2 separate regions of the Homo sapiens genome follow, and region 2 is linked to region 1. Evidence: promoter capture Hi-C in human tissues and cell types (Jung and others, 2019). All regions are on one chromosome and are shown on one strand. Each heading gives the region's core, a stretch centred on a gene start or on the middle of the fragment in contact. The rest is flanking DNA. Distances are from core to core; before and after follow the strand shown. Region 1 holds the start of RBP1 (retinol binding protein 1). Region 2 overlaps NMNAT3 (nicotinamide nucleotide adenylyltransferase 3).

Region 1 (6,864 bases), core at 1,058-3,557:
CATTTGGAAGACTAGACAAAGAGGTGGACAGACAGAAACTGAGTGAAACTAGCTGAATTAAGTGCTATATGTTCAGCTGACCAGGTCAGAAAAGTGAGATCAGGTGAGCAGAAGTTATCCAACGTGGTCAGAAGAGGGAGGAGTGGCAAGCTTGTGGTTCTTTGGGATGGACAAGAAGGACTGGAGAGGTGGGCAGGCCTCTGCCTCGAGCACGAAAGGGCCATTCCAAGCATGGCAGGGAGTCAGAACAGACTGGCCTCTGCTGTGTGCCAGGCACTGTGCTGAGCATTTGGCATAAACCATCTCAGGTGATTCAGCATAAAGGGAGAAGTTTGGGGAGGATGAGAAATCCGGCTAGCTGGGCTGGAGGCATCAGAGAGCAGGGAGAAGAGTTTAGACTAGTTGGAAGTGACCAAGGAATGGCCAGTTCACTGCTTAAGCCTTTGACCAATGCTCCATTCTGGTAAGTCAGGATAACAAGAAAGCCCAAAGCATGGCTGGCCCTGGTGGGATGCCTTACAGAACCTGGGCCAGGCCCCATCCATCCTTGCGAGGTGTCTTATTGCACCTTCAGGTTGGAAGGACTGGGATAGGTTGCCCTGAGTGCCCAGCCAAGATGAGCCCTGGGCTGGCTAGGGAGGGACACAGAGCCAGTGCTTGTGTGAACAACTGATGACCTAACCATCCAGAGCCAGACAAAGAAGCAGTGGGAAACAAGGGCCTAGAGCTGGCTCTCAACCAGGGCTGGTTTACCCAGCACCCACACCCCAGTGCCTTTGACAATGTCTGGCGACATCTTTGTGTCTGGGTGCCACTGGGATCTAATGGGTAGAGGCCAGGGATGCCACTAAATATCCTACAGTACACAGGACAGGCTCCTGTAACAAAGACTTATGTGGCCTAGAATGTCAGTAGCACAGAGATTAAGAAACAAATCCTAGTCTAGGGAAAGAGGGTGAGAAGCGCTGAAATCCAAGTTGCTGCCTGGGAGGAAGCTGTCTCTACCCTGAGGAAGAGGCTCCTTTTCCTAATTCAGCCTGCACTGTGAGAACACATGTGAGCCCCAGGGAGGCACCCTGGGGAAGGTGGTGCTAGAGGGGAAGAAAATGTTATCTGCTGTCACTTAGGCTGTGATTTGTGCAAAAAGCGATTTAAAAGAGGTAGTCAAAAAGAGGGTCAAAAAGTCAGCCCATGTGATTATGTCATCTACTTGGTGGCAAATGCAGTTAAACCACAATGACATACCCACGCAGGTGACAAAGGAGATGTGATCAAAGATTTTCATTGCAGTACTGCTTTTAATAGTGAAAGATCAGAAACAATATAGTTTGTCCATCAGGGGACAAGCTGGATAAGCAATGGAATACTCCGTAAAATAATGGGGATACTTTCTATGTACAGCTATGGAAAAGTCTCCAGAATATATTAAGTGAATAAAGCAAAGTCCAGAACACCGTGGAGTACAGTGCTGCCATTAGGTGAAACGGGAGGAAACATTAATAAACAGTATATTGCTTACATTTGCATAAAGCAGCAGTGGATCTCAAAGTTGATTGTGCATCAGAATCACCCAGAAGGCTTTTTTAGCCACATGCACTTCAAATAACATCAACTATTTTACTTATTTATTTATTTATTTATTGAGCCAGAGTCTCACTCTGTCGCCCAGGCTGGAGTGTAGTGGCACGATCTCGGCTCACTACAACCTCCTCCTCCCGGGTTCAAGCTATTCTCCTGCCTCAGCCTCCCGAGTAGTTGGGACTACAGGCGCCCGCGACCACGCCCGGCTAATTTTTTGTATTTTTAGTAGAGACGAGGTTTTACCGTGTTGCCCAGGCTGGTGTCGAATTCCTGACCTCAGGTGATCCGCCCGCCTCGGCCTCCCAAAGTGCTGGGATTACAGGCGTGAGCCGCCGTGCCCGGCATCCTTTCTTTTATTTTCGGGAGAGACGTGGAAAGTGCCCCAATTTTCTCGCCCGTAGTTGAACCTCCCAGCTTTCCTGACCCCAGCCACCACCGGCGCGAGGCTTTAGACAAAGGCCTGTAAGTGGCCTCTTTCCTTAATCACGCCAGCACAAACCCCAGGAGATTGTTTCCCAACTCCCGAGTGGCTGCTGAGTGTGAGAAGTTAATGGCGTTTGAAGGAAATCCCCAGCAGCCGAAGAGTTCGGCCAACAAAGCAAACGTCCCGTCTCCGGTCTCCTCTTCCTTTGTAGGGGAAACGAACTGAACGTCTGAAACGAAGGTGGCGCGGCCTGGACAAACCTGACCCTTCGACATCCCCCGCCCCTGCGCCCGCCCTCGCTAAGCGGGGAGGAGCGACCGCTACAATGGATCCTCCCGCAGGCTTTGTGCGCGCTGGGAATCCAGCTGTCGCCGCCCCGCAGAGCCCCCTGTCCCCGGAGGGCGCTCATTTCCGGGCCGCCCACCACCCGCGTAGCACCGGCAGCCGCTGTCCCGGCAGTCTCCAGCCGTCCCGCCCGCTTGTGGCCAACTGGCTCCAGTCACTCCCCGAAATGCCAGTCGACTTCACTGGGTACTGGAAGATGTTGGTCAACGAGAATTTCGAGGAGTACCTGCGCGCCCTCGGTAAGCGCTGCCCGCTGCGCCCTGGGCGCCCCGCCGAGCAGCTCCGGGCCGCTCCCTAGAGCCCTCCCGAGACGCTGCCTGCCTGCCTCCATCCCGGCGAGCCGCGGTCCGGTGCCCCCGGACGCCAGAAAGGGCGTCCTCGGCCACCGCTCCCAGGGCAGCCCCCAGGCTGCAGATTGGAGAATTCGGGGTTGTTAGGTTAACCGGTGGCAAATGTCTGCTCGTTGGCCCTGGAGGTGGGTAATTTCATTAGTAAATCTGGGGCTTGGTTTGCTACTTTTTGTTTTTAAACGGTTAACATAAGAGCAGAAAACTTTGTTGGGGGCGGCAGGGGAGGCACAGGCAGGCTGTGCGCAGAGACAACGCAAAGCCAGCGGGAACCCTAACAGTGTTCGCGGGCGGAGAGGGCTCCTGGGGCCCCGCTACCTTGGGAACGGTTCTCTGAGTTTCCCTGCCAACTCTCTGGCGCTCTCTCTCTCCCCGTTCAACCCCCACCGCAGACGTCAATGTGGCCTTGCGCAAAATCGCCAACTTGCTGAAGCCAGACAAAGAGATCGTGCAGGACGGTGACCATATGATCATCCGCACGCTGAGCACTTTTAGGAACTACATCATGGACTTCCAGGTTGGGAAGGAGTTTGAGGAGGATCTGACAGGCATAGATGACCGCAAGTGCATGGTGAGGATTCGCGTCCACCTGGTGTCTCCTGCCCAGGGGGCCTGACCAAGGGCTGGGCTAGTTCATCCGAGAGGGGGCAAGGGCCTGAGGGACTGAAAACTCTTCCCACTCTCAGCCCCCATGGTGGGCAGCACCAACTCATGAAGCATCCTGCTCTATCTACACTGGAAGGTGATGGTTATGAAGGCTGCCATGTGCTGTGTCTCCACTGCGTTCAGGCACTCTGCCCGGTGCTTTATGCACATGACTTCACCTAAGCCTCACACAGCCTTTGAGGGAGATATGAATATGCCCATTTTACAGATGAAGAAACAGTCTCAAAGAGATGAAGTAACATGTCCAGAGTAGCACAGCTAGGGAGGGTCTGGAGTTCAAAGCATGTCTGTTGATGCCGTTCTCTGGCTGACTGGGCTGGTGGAGGGTAAAAGAAAAGAAAGGAGGAAAGAAAAAAGAAACACAGGTAACCCCTTTGAAGTGTAAACTTTCAGTATGACTTAGTGTGAAGTCACTCCAGGAAGCTGGGGGCCCCTTGATCTCTGCTGGAAGCCCCCTGATCTGCCCATCCTTGCCCCAGAGCTGGGATTTGGCTCCTGGCCATCCCCTGCCCCACCCTGTCATCCAATGCCTACTGAGCATTCTTTGAACTTTGCAGCTGACACCTATTCAGTAAGTCAGGGCCCCTCCAGCCCAGACCAGAGGAAACAGCAGTGGGGGAAGAGGGAGGGCCAAGAGCTCCCTTCCACAAGGGTGGGAAACTCCTGACCCAGGACATCCCAATTAGTACTGCCACAGCAGATGCCGGAAGGCCAGCCCCAGGCCTCCATCAACATTATCTGGTTGCTGGGAGGTCAAGGTACTCTTGTTCTCCCTTTATAGTCTTGGGTTCAGAAGTGGCTTATGTTCATCCCAGGAGCCACCTTGCTTATTGATGGGGTCCTCACCCACCACCTCCCACCATTTACCAAGGGTCTTTACCGCTGGTCTGCTGTGTGTCCAGCACTGTGCTAGTCATCTTACAGCACAGCACAGTGAGGGAGGGATAAGTAACCCCATGTTATGCAGTGACTGAGGCTCAGACAGAGGAAGAGACTTGTAAGAGATGAGACTTGAGCCCTGGGCCTTCTGATGTTGAAGCCCACAGTCCTGCTTTCTGCCAGCTTCTCTGCTGGTAGTCTGTGCAGAAACAAGATAGCTGAGGTCTGTTAGGATTGTAGTTGAAGGGATGCCCATGTCTGGGAATAGGCATCTGGAGCCTGGATGACTCATCCCCCCACCTTGTCTATTCATCTGAAGGCAGTCAGGATTGGTATCTGAGTCTGCTGTTTGGAATGATGGGAAAGAGGGGGTAGTCAGCAGGGAGTGGCCTTGGAAGGACCACTAATGGGAGAAAACACCATTGTTGCAGAGAAATGTCAGGTTGTGCCTTTAAAAATCTCAAGGACTCTTAATCTGCAGGAAAGACTCACAATAGGAAAGGAGACCTTCAGATGGCATCTGCCTTTCTCATTACTGCCCAAGACCTGCTCCCCGGCACACTGCATGGAACTTTGCTCCTTAAGAATAATCCTTACCCCCACTCACTATTGTGGAACTCACAGATCACATCGAACCTTTATTTTGGGTCACCACAAATCTGGCATGTGCTGGCTTGTACTAATTATCTTCACTCTTTCCTTCCTTTCTTCATCCATTAACACATGAAACATTTATTGATCACCTAGTAATACTAGCAAATGCAGTACTCATCAAGTGCTTACTGTCATGCCAGATGCTATTCAAACGTTACATTAGCTGACTTAATCTTCACAACACCCTTTCAAGCCTCATTTTACAGATAAGAAAACCACTGCAGGATTTCTTGCTGTGTGACCTTGGGGAAGTGCAGAGGGAGGATTTTAGTTAACCACTGCCCTGAACATACTGCTTCCCTCACGGGCTGGTCACCACGGCAGGCACAGGACAGCAGAGCATGTCACAGGCCCTGATGTCCAGGAAAGCAAAGTCTTTGCAGTGGAGGCAGGCACACCAACACTCGCAACACAGTGTGGCAAAGAAAAGCACAGGGTGGGAGTGAGGGGATGGGGACTACCCAGAGAAGGGGATCCCAGAAGAATTTCTGAAAGAGGTGACTTCTGTGCTTCATTGTAAAATAAAGCAGGGAGGTAGAAGGGAGGGTTTTGGATACAAAGGAAAGGACAAGGGCCACCTTTTCTTCTCACTACAGCATCAGCGTCAATCGAGCATCAAGCAGTAGTCGAGCAGACCGTGCAGATTCAGCCACTGGACGAATCCAGTGAAACTGGTCTAGGATGCATGGTTACTATCACTGCCCCAGGACTCAGGGATGCCCACTCTCAAGTAGATAGCCATTCGCTCACCTGTTGTGGCCTGTTGGGAGATGGAACAGCCTGTCTGCTCTGCTCAAGCCTTCGCCTAGCCCCATGCAGTACAGAAAAGCCCTTCTCTCTGGGCTGGCCGCTGGGTGGTATGCTGCTTTGGACTGCCGGAAGGACATGGCTGGATGGGGGTAGGATGATAGAATTAGAGCAGCTGTCAGGCCTGAGACTTGTGAATGGAGGGGAGCTGGGTACCCAGAGGCCACCAGCTGGGCTCTCTGAGGGCCGCCAGGGGTCCTGGACAAGGTGGTTGCCAAAGATCACTTTCACTGCTACCCCCTCTGCCTCACACACTGGGCACCCATCAGCCAGGAGCAGTGGCCCAGAGGAGTTTGTTCCCAGCATATTACAGGAGTCCCATTCTCACTTGGGATCGGTCATTCGTCTATTTTTTTCATTCCTCTCTGGACACCACAAGCATCTCATGGTGCTTCCACTATCTTTGCAACCCCTGTGTCAATGAGACAAATCACACACGATTCCTGCCCTCATGGAGTTCAGTGTAAGGAGGAGGCAAATTGAAGCAGCCAATCACGACGTAGTGGACACTGTGCTGATACAGGCAGAGAAGCACTCCCTGCTCGGTCTGAGAGGTCAGGGAACGCTCCCACAGGAATTGGAGTCTGAACTGTGGCTTATAGGATAGACAGGAAGTAGCCAGGCAAACAGAAAGGGGTTGAAAGAAAGGCCACGGCCGAAAGCTGTCCCACACCAAGCCCTGGGCTTGGCCCTGGGGTCGCAGAGGCAACAAGGCCTTCTGGACACCCAGGCCAGTGGAGGAGACAGGCACATCTTCAGGCCATTACAGCTCAATGCATGATGGGAGCACGGTGGGCTGGGGAGCATACAGCTGGGAGTAGGAAAGCAGTGGTCAGGGAAAGTCCCAGAGGAGGCGACAGCTGAGAGGGGCCTTAAAGGACTAATTAGGGCAGATGTGGAGAAAAGGATAAGAGCTTTCCAGTAAGCGGGAACCACATGTACAAAGGCCCAGGGTCAGAAAAGCCTGGCTGGGAGGGAGTTTCAGAGGTGAGAGAGGAGCAGTCTGCGAAGACTTCAGCATGCCTGGAGTGCAAGATGTGGCTGGGAGAGAAGAGAGCCAGGAGAACCTGGCAGGGAGACTTGATGTGACCCTGACAGGCCTCTGTGAGTCCTTGCTGGGAGAGGTGTGGCCAGGCTGACATCCCTCCCCAAAGGGCAGAG
Region 2 (6,707 bases), core at 259-2,758, 50 kb before region 1:
GCTTCCCGGCTGCTTTGTTTACCTAAGCAAGCCTGGGCAATGGCGGGCGCCCCTTCCCGAGCCTCGTTGCCGCCTTGCAGTTTGATCTCAGACTGCTGTGCTAGCAATCAGCGCGATTCCGTGGGCGTAGGACCCTCTGAGCCAGGTGTGGGATATAGTCTCGTCGTGCGCCGTTTCTTAAGCCGGTCTGAAAAGCGCAATATTCGGGTGGGAGTGACCCGATTTTCCAGGTGCGTCCGTCACCCCTTTCTTTGACTCGGAAAGGGAACTCCCTGACCCCTTGCGCTTCCCAGGTGAGGCAATGCCTCGCCCTGCTTCGGCTCGCGCACGGTGCGCACACACACTGGCCTGCGCCCACTGTCTGGCACTCCCTAGTGAGATGAACCCGGTACCTCAGATGGAAATGCAGAAATCACCCGTCTTCTGTGTCGCTCTCACTGGGAGCTGTAGACCGGAGCTGTTCCTATTCGGCCATCTTGGCTCCTCCTCTGAGTAAATTCTTTTTTTATATATTTTTAATCTATATCATTATGCAGCTATTAAAAGTGATGTTTTCAAGAGTGCTAATGACCAAGAAAAACCCTTATGATATAATCTAAATAAAGAAGAATTAAAAGTGAATTTACGTGGTTTGAAGAAAAGTATAAAAAAATACAAAATGAACTATAATATAAACCATATTAACATCTTAGATACGTTTTATTAACTTTTTATCCTTCACACTTTTCAGTAGACTGTAATATTTCTACAGCACGCATTAATTTTTAAGCTTATTTTATATATCATATTTATAAATTTATTAGATAATAAAAGTTGTTACTCTAAGGCTTATAGTGTTATTTGTTCCATCCTCATTTCTGATTCCTGGTTCCCAGAGCAATCACTTATGACTCTTTCAGATGTTTTCTCTGGTACTTGACTCCCCATTTCTAAATAACAAGCTTATACTGTTATATCTTGTTTTTTCAGATTTAGATAATATATCTTGGCTTCCTTCAGGAAAAATGAAGATTTCACTCTCTCACACCTCCACCCTCCCATTCACACCTCGCCTCCACCACATGCTCCCAAATTGATTAGCTCATAACTTTGGGTTTGATTCATATTATTGTTCACATTTATGTCTATGTAAATAGTGTCAAGAAAACCATGCAGTGCACTATGATTCCACTGCCTCCCATATAAACTTTGGGTTTTTTCCTAGAGTTAGTAATTGTTCATGTATTTGTTGCCTTAGTTTCCTATGCCTATCATTAATTCAGTCCCAATTTTACCAAAAGATCTCTAAAACTCTTCTTAGTACAGACAAATTCATCAGATGATCTGTCTGTTCCGTTTTGTGTCTGCCCATATCCCTCCTGAAGCCCTCCAGGTCCTAGCTGGACATCCAGCTCTCTGTACCCACTATACTGTCATCCTGGGATTGCCTTTCACTGTCTCCCTGGGGATTCTCTGTGCCTGTTTCCTGATTCAAAACCCCTGTTTCTTGGATCCCATGCCTTCTGCTTTTGGGTTTACTCTCTTATTTGGGTGGTGGAGTTCGTCTTCTGGCATCTTTGTGAGAAAGGGTATAGAGGAGGTAAATTTTCTGAGACCTAGCATGTATGAACACAACTTCATGCCATACTTCAGAGGGCAGTAAACTACAGCCCATGGGCCAAATCTGATCCATAGCCTATTTTCATTCATGTTGTGAGCTATGGGATGGTTTGCTTACATTTTTTAAATGGCTTTTAAAATTATGCAACAAAGCTTGTATGTGGCCCATAAAAACTGTATGTGGCCTGCAAAGCCTAAACTATTTACTATCTGTCCAATAATGGAAAAAGCCTGCTGACACCTGTTCTAATTGATTGGTAGTTTGGCCAAATGTAGAATTAAGGTTGGAAATGATTTTCCTTTAACATTTTGAAGACTTCACTCCACTGTCTCCTGGATTCAAGACTTGCTGTTGAGAAATCCAATGCTATCCTGCTTTCCAGTTCTGTATGTTAAACCTCTGGTTTTCTCTTTTGAAACTTTCAGGACCTTCTCTTTAAACCTACTCATCTAAAATCTTATAATGTTTTGCCATTGTGTGAATCTTCTTTTATGCCAAATGTTGATTCTCAGAGGACCATTGATTCTGAAAATGTATGTCCTTCTAGTCTGGGAAAATAGAATGTCTTATTTATTTGATAATTTCTTCTGTTTTCCTGTTCTCTTTCAGAAATTTCTATTAGTTCACTGTGTACCTCCTATATTAAACCTCTAGTCTTTTCTTCTATTTTACAATTCCTGCATACAATTCCTGCAAATCCTGCATACAATTTCTGCATTGCCTTTGTATCCTCCAAGTTCCTTTGCTCCTGGTGGCTGTTTTAGTCTCTGTCTTTCATGGTGAGCACCTTTCCAAAATTTGTCTCTTCCTAGACTGTCCACTCATGTTTGCAGATCAGGCCCTAAATGCAGGCTAGAAGCTCTGGATGTGAATGTAAAGCTGATAGACCTCATGGTTATATGGTCAGGCCCTAGGTTCAAGACCCCCAAATGTGTGTAGGTGTTGGTGTCTTTTCCTAGGTAGGTCTGTTCCCCAGAGAGACATTCTGGGAAACATACTTAATCCTTCTGTCTTAAAGATGTTACTTCCCCTCCCTCAGCTGTGCCTATATTTGAGAATAAAGGTTCTCTCTGGTCCAACCCAGGCAGAAAGTAGATATGCGCCCTTCTGCCACAATGGGAGGATAACGTAGGCGATTAGAGGCTGGGGTGGATCCAAGGACTCTTCATACAAACTCTCAACTGGCCCTCCTGTTTTCAGGCCCTCTGGCACCCCCACCTGGAGAGGTTCTTGGCTCCTCCGATTCCTGAGCCACTCTGGGCCTCTGCTACTGCACAGCTTGCCTCTTACTGCCTTCCCTGCATGCAGAAGACTCTGCTTGGTTTATTATCAATTTTTATCAGCTCTCCAGTGTCCAAAATGTTTTGCATTTTCCCAACTATTGTCTCCTTTTGCACTCTCTTTGCCCTTATGATTTCATACTTTATTTATTCCTTTATTATCATTTTCTTAGTTTTCAGAGAGGGTAGAGATAAACAAGGAATTCTGTCTGTAGGGATGGTATATCTTCATTCTAACTAATGTGCTCGTCGTGTTACCCAGAACGAAAAGACAAGTTCACGTCCTTAAGGAGCGCTCAGTGTCATGGGAAAGGCACAGGCAGATGAATCATTTTCATACAGGTGCTGTAATGGAGATGTGTCTGAGCAGCAGAGGGTCACAGGAGAAGTATCTGCATCTAGTGGGGGAGGGCCTGAGAGGGTCACTGGGATTGTGACCTAGAGCAGTGGGGAAGGGAAAAGGCTTGGACTTATGACCATTTGGAGGGCAAGAAGGAGTTTTAGATCAAATTGTTATTTTTATTGACTCTCCTCTCCTGGGTGCTATAAAAAAGCATTGATTTCTCAATGCAGGGCCTGTCCTATCAAGATGAGCTAAACCATCACAGGTGACACCTGGGTATCCAACATGCCCAGCAGAGCTGCCTGGAGAGAGCCCTGTCCTTCCACCATTTTCTTCTATAAAACAGAAATTAATGTGAAGGTTAAATGTATGTAAATTGCTCAAGAAAGTCAGCACCCAGCAGGAGTTAGTCCTCCCAACCCCCATTTCTTTTAAACAGGAAGAGAAAAAGAAGGAGCATGTATGTCCCATGTATAACATGAGCTCAGATGCGCAGAAAGATAACTTACTTTGCTTTCTATAACATTCAACTTGATCTTAAGCCACCATTTCCATGAATTGTGAAAAAATATGTCACTTCAAGGGATTCCTGAAGTGGTAAACTTTTTAATTTTCAGCTTAGTCTTTTACAGGTTAGTTATTAATCAAGTGCATTTTTTCCTGCCTACCTCCCCAAGAGTGCATTAAGCATCCTGGATGGCTTAGCATCCTGGCTTCCAAAACAGGGCAGCTGCCCTCACTACTTTCTAGCCGAGGGATCTGTCCTTAATCTTAGGCACTGGCATCTATCCACTCTCGCTCCACTATTGAAGCCTCCTCAGCTTCTCTTGTCTCAGGCATTATATCCCTGTTGTCTGGACCTGTGCCTTGGCTCCCCATGGTACTGTCAATGCCATAGTCCCTGGCTTTGGACTGTACTCCCTATACCCTGTATCTACCCGCTAGTAGCCCAGGCACCTGCTGACTGCTAATTCTCAGCCTCCTTCACTATTCCTCTCAAGGAGACTTAGAATTGCTGTGGATCTGTGCCATACCTTGCCAAAGCTGAAGGAGGCTGTTCTGAAGCTCTCTCTGCTATACACGCCACATGCCATTTCTATTCTGTCAGTGCCGTTGTGTATTGGCACAGGGCAATGCAAGGTGGTCTTCCAGAATTCCAGATGGGAAGCAAAATATAAACTCCACTGCTCTAACATTGTCAGATTTAACTGGGCATCTTAACTATGCCCTCCCAAACCCCAATACAAATTAGGTTTATCTCTGCAGGGTATGAGAGTATAGGGAGCAGGCCTAATACCTGTCTAAACTGTCACCACAGACATTGTCTATCAGGCTTTTCTCTGCCCTTCTGCCCATTCTTCCACCTCACCTCACCCTCAGGCCAAAAAGGGCCTTTTGTTTTCATTTTCACTTTCTTTTCTTTTTACTGCTCTGTGGGCTTTAGTGAAACTGTGCACTCTGATTCCCCGGGTTTTCTGGTTCTTGATTATTTTAAGAGTAACTTTTGGAACTTAAATAAACCTTTTCTCTCTCAATATAGCCTGGCTCTTTTAAATGAAAGCTTTAACCTTCACAAGCATTACCTCTGAAATGAGTTTCAAGAGCCAGTTGTGGGAGTCAAAAACTGAATATGACCTCCTTGCTCTCAGCTGGGTTCTGCCATCCCCTTGAAGGAGGGGGTACCTCAGCCCTCAGGAAGGAGAGCCTGGGCCTGCCAGGATTACCATGGAAGGAAAATGCTTCCAGTTTCCAGGGGGGCAGCCTACACTCTTAGGATCAACTTTTCCATTAAAACAACAAAAAGTGGTGGGTAGCACGTTTTCCACACTTCACCTTTTTTAAACTTTTATTTTGGGTTCGAGGGTACATGTGAAGGTTTGTTATGTAGATAAACTCATGTCTCAGGGGTCTATTGCACAGATTATTTCATCACCCAGGTATTAAGCTTGGTGCCCATTAGTTATTTTCTCTGCTTCTCTCACTCTCCACCCTCCACCCTCAAGTAGACCCCAGTGTGTATTGGTCCCTTCTTTGTGATCATGAGTTCTCATCATTAGCTTCCACTTAGAAGTGAGAACATGCGGTATTGGTTTTCTGTTCTGCTTCTCTTTAGCAAACTTCACTATTAAAGCTAAAAAGCTGAGAGATAAACACCTGGAACCAGAGAGGTTAGCAGGCTATGGGAGCACCAGAGCCACTGGTGCCCTGTTGAGCACTTGCCAGAACGGCTCACTTAAGCTTTGAATCAGCAGCCATGCAAGTCGGGAAGAACAGAATTCAGAGACTGGATCCCTTCCAAGCTGAGAAGCCTCAGAGTTGACTTCCCCTACATTCAGCTGAACCCACAAGGAGCTATACCCTCCGGGGTAAGGTAAACTAGATCTTAATTCACCTTTTCCCCCTAATCCTAGAGAACTTCTGAGAAGCCTTAGTGCTTTAGTGCTGAGGCAAAAGAGGAAAAGTGAAAGAATAAAATATCCCTAGGAAGAAGCAGCCACACATGAGTCCTTGCTCAGATTTGAAACTCCCATCCTGGATTAGCCAAAAAAACTCAAGCCAGGAATTTGATTTCAGGTTATTCATGAGTTTTAGGTGCCTGGCAAAAGCAAATATGAAGTGTCTCTGGAATATCTATCTTAGATCTGGAGGATCTTTCACAAATAACTGCTCAGGAGCATTCACCAGAAAACATTGAAAAATAACTAGGCACAAAAGAAAACAATATGACTAAGAACTATCAGAAAAAACAGACAACAGAAATAACCTGTACAGACTTTGAAACTGGCATTGTATGATACAGATTTTAAAAGTAGTATTTATATCTAAAGAAAAAAGAAACTATAGAAAGTCACCAGATTTGATGAAAAACTCATCAGAATTTCTAGAAATTATGACCAAAATAAACAAAATTAAAAGTTCATTGAAAGCTCATTAAATGTGTGCACACCAAAAACAGGATCCCAAAATACATGGAGTAGAAACTGATAGAGCTGAAAGGCAAAATAGACAAATTCGCAATTATAGGTAGAGATTTCAACACCCCACAATTGCCAATTACTACTGCTAGACAGAACTACTGGACAGAAAATCAGCAAGGATATAGAAATAAAGACACTCAACAACAGCATCAAATTGATGTGTAACAGAACTCTCCATCATCCAACAACAGCAGAATATATATTTTTTTCAAGCACCTATGGAATATTCACTAAGATAGGTCATATTCTGAGCTATAAAACAATCCTGAAAATGTATGAAACAAAAGTTGAAAGTACTAAAAAGAAAAACGGAAAATCCACAATCATAGTGAGAGATTTTAACATGCCTCTGTTTATAACTAATAAAAGAGGCAGACAAAAAAATCAGAACATAGATTTAAGCAAAACAATTAGTAATCTTGACTGAATGGACAGAACATTACATTTGACAACCATAGAATATGCATTCTTTTTAAGCACACGTAGGACATTTACCAAAACTCACC

What was found. Contacts are between HindIII fragments. The study calls those that stand out against the background at their distance.
Region 2: a fragment that was not itself captured here is called in contact with the fragment with the promoter of RBP1 in region 1 in 1 of the 25 tissues and cell types used here (spleen).

The regions. Positions count from the first base shown.
Region 1 is chr3:139,535,185-139,542,048 of GRCh38, reverse strand. It overlaps RBP1 (retinol binding protein 1), which reads left to right and starts at 2,307. Exons shown (of 4, transcript NM_002899.5): 1 at 2,307-2,589; 2 at 3,090-3,268. The coding sequence starts at 2,331. The region is part of intron 3 of COPB2-DT (COPB2 divergent transcript); the gene reads right to left. RefSeq lists enhancers at 3,232-4,431, 6,277-6,864. The HindIII fragment of the contact is 8,428 bases long and covers 1-6,864 here.
Region 2 is chr3:139,584,739-139,591,445 of GRCh38, reverse strand. The region is part of intron 4 of NMNAT3 (nicotinamide nucleotide adenylyltransferase 3); the gene reads left to right. Among named protein-coding and RNA genes, the nearest start is that of RBP1, 48 kb to the right of the region's middle. RefSeq lists an enhancer at 4,522-4,911. The HindIII fragment of the contact is 3,521 bases long and covers 1-3,268 here.